2 separate regions of the Homo sapiens genome follow, and region 1 is linked to region 2. Evidence: promoter capture Hi-C in 16 types of primary human blood cells and fetal thymus (Javierre and others, 2016). All regions are on one chromosome and are shown on one strand. Each heading gives the region's core, a stretch centred on a gene start or on the middle of the fragment in contact. The rest is flanking DNA. Distances are from core to core; before and after follow the strand shown. Region 1 overlaps SLC4A4 (solute carrier family 4 member 4). Region 2 holds the start of GRSF1 (G-rich RNA sequence binding factor 1).

The links. Contacts are between HindIII fragments. The CHiCAGO score rates a contact against its expected background, and 5 or more counts as called.
Region 1: a fragment that was not itself captured here is called in contact with the fragment with the promoter of GRSF1 in region 2 in 1 of 17 cell types (monocytes); the score reaches 5.2 in monocytes.

The regions. Positions count from the first base shown.
Region 1 is chr4:71,260,017-71,262,927 of GRCh38, reverse strand. All of the region lies in intron 3 of SLC4A4 (solute carrier family 4 member 4), which reads right to left. Among named protein-coding and RNA genes, the nearest start is that of SLC4A4, 74 kb to the right of the region's middle. The HindIII fragment of the contact is 1,172 bases long and covers 830-2,001 here.
Region 2 is chr4:70,838,161-70,841,339 of GRCh38, reverse strand. GRSF1 (G-rich RNA sequence binding factor 1) reads left to right here and starts at 1,450. Exons shown (of 10, transcript NM_002092.4): 1 at 1,450-1,869. The coding sequence starts at 1,513. LOC124900710 (a long non-coding RNA gene) reads right to left here and starts at 2,348. Exons shown (of 3, transcript XR_007058131.1): 1 at 2,195-2,348. RefSeq lists silencers at 1,183-1,432, 1,493-2,042 and enhancers at 1,439-2,092, 2,093-2,747. The HindIII fragment of the contact is 9,073 bases long and covers 1-2,907 here.

The DNA.
Region 1 (2,911 bases), core at 166-2,665, 420 kb before region 2:
ATGTAACTAACCTACACGTTGTTCACATGTACACTAGAACTTAAAGTATAACAAAAAAAAAAGAATTGTTGGCTAGATACACAAAACAAGGTCATTTTTCTATTCCCAAAGAAATGACACCCGGGGGGAAAGGGGAATAAATACTGTTTGCTAGAAAAAAAAAAAGGATTGTTTGTTTGTTTGTTATTTAATTAAGGAGAGACTATAGAACTAATATTTTAGATGTCTGGCAGCCTTGTCTGAAATAACTCCCTTCTATTTCAAGGATGAACTTAACGCTGAAATTCCAAATAAGAAGTATTGCCTTAGGAATTCAAAGGAAGTGGCAGACATAAGAGAAACTTTGAAGGAAAAACCAACAGCGCTCAGTGCATGGCTGGCTATGGAAGAAAAACAACAGAGAAGGATAAAGGATAACTTGGATCTTGATTCTATATTAACCAGGAAAATGGAGACTCCTTGCTCGCAACACCTCTATAAAAGTGATGAAAAGTCAAGTAAGACTCCTATCCATGGGAAAGTTATTAAAAGAGCCTAACATTCCTGCCTCCAGATTGTGGTCATGGAAGAATTCCGCAGAATTTATTTATAGAGTAGGCCCGTGGTCCCTCACCCCAACTACTTCTGCATTTATGAGTTCACACTCATAAAGCCCTGAATTTAAATCCCTGGTATTAAGAACCCTTGTTCTTTAAGAATTATTTCCTTCTATATGAAAAAATTCCTAAACAGAATACTATTTCAAGAAGACCCTTGCCAATACCTTTCTTTTTTTCAGTGCATTCAAATCACACACACTCACACAAACTCACAAATACACATTCAAGCTTCCTGCCTTGTAAATTTGAATCCCAAACCACAGGATGTGACCTGCCTTCCGCTTAGGTGGTAATGCCTGTGGCAGACAGTCATTTATACCCCATTTACTTCACTAAAGTAAATTTCACACTGAAATTCTGCACAGTATTCTGGTTTCCCCCCATTTTCCACCCTAAGTCACAATCTCTTTTTAGCCCTGAGCACCCCAGCACGTGGAGTACACTAGAACCCTTTGAGGTCTCCTGAACTCATAAGTCACTATAAATAGCAACAACATCAACTCTCCCATGACACGTGTAAACACACTACTCATAACATCTCATGGCATGATAACATGGAATAACTATTAGAATAGAATAGCCAGTGGCAACAAGAAATGAATAGTGTAAAATCTGCCATTTGAAGGGCACTTCAAGGTGACTTCAAGAGAGCTGCATTTCAGAAACTCAAGGCTCTCTAAGAGACTTATGCAGTTAACTGGCTAAAGAAGCAGAAGCACTATGACACAGTCCTCTTGTATTCATCAGCATCACAGAGGAATAAACAACAATTATTTGTACCACACAAAACACAACATTGTTGAGCCAACCCATTGCCATCAAAAACACAAGTATGCCAAATATTTTTCCTTTCTGCACAACACTGCCTCCAAATTGCTGACTTGTCCCACCCAACAGCCCTTCTTAACCAGATTAATTTCACAAAGAAACACAAAGAAAGAGCCAGAAAGAGATCCTTCCTGTAAAAGACAGAACAGTCTATTTGATTTCAGGCATCCAGAACGGGGAATTACAACTGCCGACTAAATTCAAGGACACCCTTGGTACACCAAGCCACTTGCTGGTGGCAGTATTCCACAAAAAAGAGCAGCACAAGAGACAGCACCTCTGCCCCTTGAAGTCCTTGTTCCCTTGGTCCTCTCACCTGCCAGCCAACGTGCAGACTGACACTCACTGGCAAGATAAGAGACTGAATTTAGGTTGCTTCTCTCAAATATGCCGTTAGGAGCCAAGAGCCAAGCCGACAGCTAAAGCAAAAGAACGCCTAGTGAGAATTTGTGGCAGAAAAGACCAGAAGAGCTTAAAGAATAGTGGTTATTGTTTACAAGGAATTAAGCTCTACAGAGTTTTAGCCTCAAGTTTTTGGCATTACCTGTGTATGATGGATAGGAAAAGATAAGCTTGAAGAAGGCAATCATAGTAACTCAAAATAATAACTGCTAACCATTATTGCTGACTACATGCAGTGCTCACTTCATGTTCAGAATACTATGATTAAAATCGATCATCCCCTTTTTACATATGAGGAAACTAGAGCACAAAGAAGTTAAGTAAATAACCAAGGTTACACTGCTGGTATGAACTGGGATTCAAACTCAAGTAATCTGGCTCAAATATGCACTCTTAACCACTCTGATATGCTCCCTTTCCAGCAAAATTACAACACAAGTGTCCCTTCTGAAAAGGCAAACTGTAAGTTTTAAAACATTTTTTAATATAAAAAGCTTTTGTACTCAGACCTAAAGACAAAGTACTTCCTCCTACTTATATAAGGTGAAAAATAGAGAAGGGGATGAAAGAGATGGTATAGTTTTATTGTGTTTGTGTTTTGTTTTTTAAACTGGGACAGGTCTACCTCATTTTCATACATTTCCAAAGCCTTTTCTCCTATATATAGATCGATTTTTGAGAATACCAATGGCATGTAGAAAATTAAAGAAACCTTATTTTATGGTATCAAAATTAAGGATCTTGCCTGAAAACATTTTAAAAATCAAGAAAAAGTACAAATGTACCAAGAAGTATGAGGTCAGGTTGGGAGGGGTGTGCACTGGGAAAAGGGGAAGTCAAATGACACAACACCAAATATTCTTGGCTCTTATGAAAAGCTACTCTGTTCATTTACCCGGAAGCACCAAACAAAAGCAGCTGCCCATTTCTCTGTTTCAGTTTCCTGAATATAACTGGATCACCAACCAGCATCCATTGTCCCAGGCTCACAGAACAATGTTCACTAGCATAAATCCATCAGTTCTGGTACACATCCAAAAAGCTAAAAAAGAATACCACAAGACTGAATGAGTGTCTGTATG
Region 2 (3,179 bases), core at 201-2,700:
CTTTGTTATGTATTATCAGTACATAATAAATATATATGTTTTCTTTTATTTTTTTAGAGACAGGGTTTCACTCTGTCACCCAGGCTGGAGTTCAGTGGTGGCAATCATAGCTTACCACAGCCTCTACCTTCTGGGCTGAAGCAATCGGCCTCCCAAGTAGCTGGGACTACAGGCCCACGCCATCACACCCAGCTTTATTTATTTTTTGTATAGACGGGGTCTCCCTATGTTGCCCAGGCTGGTCTGGAACTCTTGGGCTCCAGTGATCCTCTCACTTCAGCCTCCCAAAGCGCTGGGATTATAGGCATGAGCCACCACGCCAGGCCTATATTTCATTTTAAAACAACGAAGTTCTCCTTCCTCACATACCTCAAATTCGGGGGGTACCAAATCTCTGATATTATCCCAACGATTTTTTTATAACCAAGGTATCACAATTCCTTTCAGAAAGGGTTCTTTAGCCACTCACACCACGGGTTTCGGTGGCACAGCGCAGGGCAGCACAGACTTGTGCTACAGCTCTCGGCCCTACCCAGAGCAGGATGGCCCTAACCTAATTTTTTTGTTTGTTTGTTTGGAGATGGCGTCTCACTCTGTCGCCCAGGCTGCAGTGCGGTGGCACGATCTTGGCTCACTGCAACCTCCGCCTCCTGGGTTCAAGCGATTCTCCTGCCTCAGCCTCCTGAGTAGCTGGGATTACGGGCACCCGTCACCACACCCGGCTAATTTTTGTGTTTTTAGTAGAGACACAGTTTCACCATGTTGGCCAGGCTGGTCTTGAACTGCTGACCTCAGGTGATCCGCCCTACCTCGGCCTACTAAAGTGCTGGGATTACAGGCGGGAGCCACCGCGTCCGACCTAATTTTTTGTATTTTAGTAGAGACGGGATTTCACCGTGTTGCCTAGGTTGGTCTCGAACTCCTGACCTCAGGCAGTCCACCCGCCTCTGCCTGCCAAAGTGCTAGGATTACAAGAATGAGTCACTACGAATGAGTCACTGCGCCAGGCCCCTAGCCTCACTTACTTTGGGCCTCAGTTTCCACCGCCTGAAAAAAGAGCAGTTCGATTGCACCCACTTCCCCGGGCCCCGCCCAAACCATGGGCAGCCCCGCCCAAACCATGGGCAGCCCCGCCCAAACCATGGGCAGCCCCGCCCAAACCATGGGCAGCCCCGCCCAAACCATGGGCAGCCCCGCCCAAACCATGGGCAGCCCCGCCCAAACCATGGGCAGCCCCGCCCAAACCATGGGCAGCCCCGCCCAAACCATGGGCAGCCCCGCCCAAACCATGGGCAGCCCCGCCCAAACCATGGGCAGCCCCGCCCAAGGGCGGAGACTGGGCGGAGCGTCGCGCTCTCCTCCACCTCCTTCCGACTCTCGGAGGCCCCCCACCCAGTGCCCGCGGCGCATGTGCCAGGCACACCCCACCCCCAACCGGCCCTGGATTCCACTTCCGTTCCACCATCGCTGCTGGAGCAGCTGCCTTCAGGCCCTGCGCCGCCTCCGGAGTCCATGGCCGGCACGCGCTGGGTACTCGGGGCGCTGCTCCGGGGCTGCGGCTGTAACTGCAGCAGCTGCCGGCGCACCGGCGCCGCCTGCCTGCCCTTCTACTCCGCCGCTGGCTCTATCCCGTCGGGCGTCTCGGGCCGCCGCCGCCTGCTGCTGCTGCTCGGGGCCGCCGCGGCCGCTGCCTCCCAGACGCGTGGCCTCCAGACCGGGCCTGTGCCTCCCGGGAGGCTGGCGGGGCCTCCCGCTGTGGCCACCTCTGCCGCGGCCGCGGCCGCCGCGTCCTACTCTGCCCTCCGTGCCTCTCTGCTGCCGCAGTCGCTGGCGGCGGCGGCCGCCGTCCCGACGCGCAGCTACAGCCAGGTACGTGGGCGCCGTGAGGGACCTGGCGCGAGATCCCTCCCGGGCCGCGTGCACGCGCCCCCGCGCCCCTCCGTCCCTCCGTGTGCGCCTCGCGGGCACGCCCGGGGATCCGCGACACTCGCCGCACACCCGCCCCCGTCCACCCTGTGCTCCTATTGGGCCCTGGAACAAGGGAAGCTCTCCCAGGCGTCGGGTCTTCTGCTTGTTTTGTTCTCGCCTCGAGTCTCTGGTCGGTTGGGCAGTGTAAGTGTGGCTGGGGTGAATGTTGAGGCCTTGTTCCCCGCCTGGCCCATGGTAGGTTTCGTGAGGCTGCTGACGCCCCCACCTCGCATCTTCTTGCTTTCCGCCGGCTGGTTGTGAAGTTGCGAGGCCCGAGCCCGCCGGAGGGTTGGGAGTTTCCGTGCAGCCCGAGCGCTAGGCCTGGGCGGCCCTCGGCGCCTCTCGGTCGGCCGCTGCTGGGAAGGTGCGCGCACACAGTTGCGTGGGCTGGCTTGTAGGGAAGGAGCCTGTCCCCATCGCGCCGTTCCCTCTCCTGTCCCCAGGGAAAGACGAGCTGTCCCGGTTTACTGAAGGTCACCTCTGCAACTCCACTCATACAGAAGGTCTTTAAGGACTGTGTGTCGCCTCGTCTGGGAAAGCAGTTTGGAGATTTAGCTGTTGGGGGGAGGGGGTGAATGGGAGGGAGCGTTGAGGGTTGAGGACACAACTTGGGGTCCCAGGAATGAATTTGCAATGTTTTCCTTTCCATTTTTTCTTTATTTTTTTAGAAAAGTCGGTGTGTAGTTAGATTGCAAATATTTTGTGCTTTGTAGATGAACCTTTCTCTTCTTGGTACGTGGCATCTGGGAAGTGTCTGCACACTTTTTAACTACCCAGCCCCTGATTCCTTAGGTCATATTTATCTTAATTCAATTTGTGCTTCTCCTTTAACTTAGGGAGACTGGGAGGCTAATCAGCATGGCTGCTGTCTGCCAGTGGCTGAGCTAATTGATTTGAATCCTGGCCCAATACTTTACGCTGCCTTTTTCTGTAAAAGCTTGTGATGCTTATGGAATTATGGAAAAATGGGGAAAGTTGTCTACAAAAACCACAACAAAACCATCTCCAGTAAACCTTTGTGAGCTAGCTTCTCTCTTTTTTTTTCTATGAAATTGACTGCGGTGATATCTGTAGAGCATCTACTATGTGTTAGACACTGCTTACATTTATTCCTTAAAACTAAACATTAAGCCTTTTTTTTTTTTTTTTTTTGGAGACCGAGTCTCGCTCTGTCGCCCAGGCTGGAGTGCAGTGGAATGATCTCGGCTCAC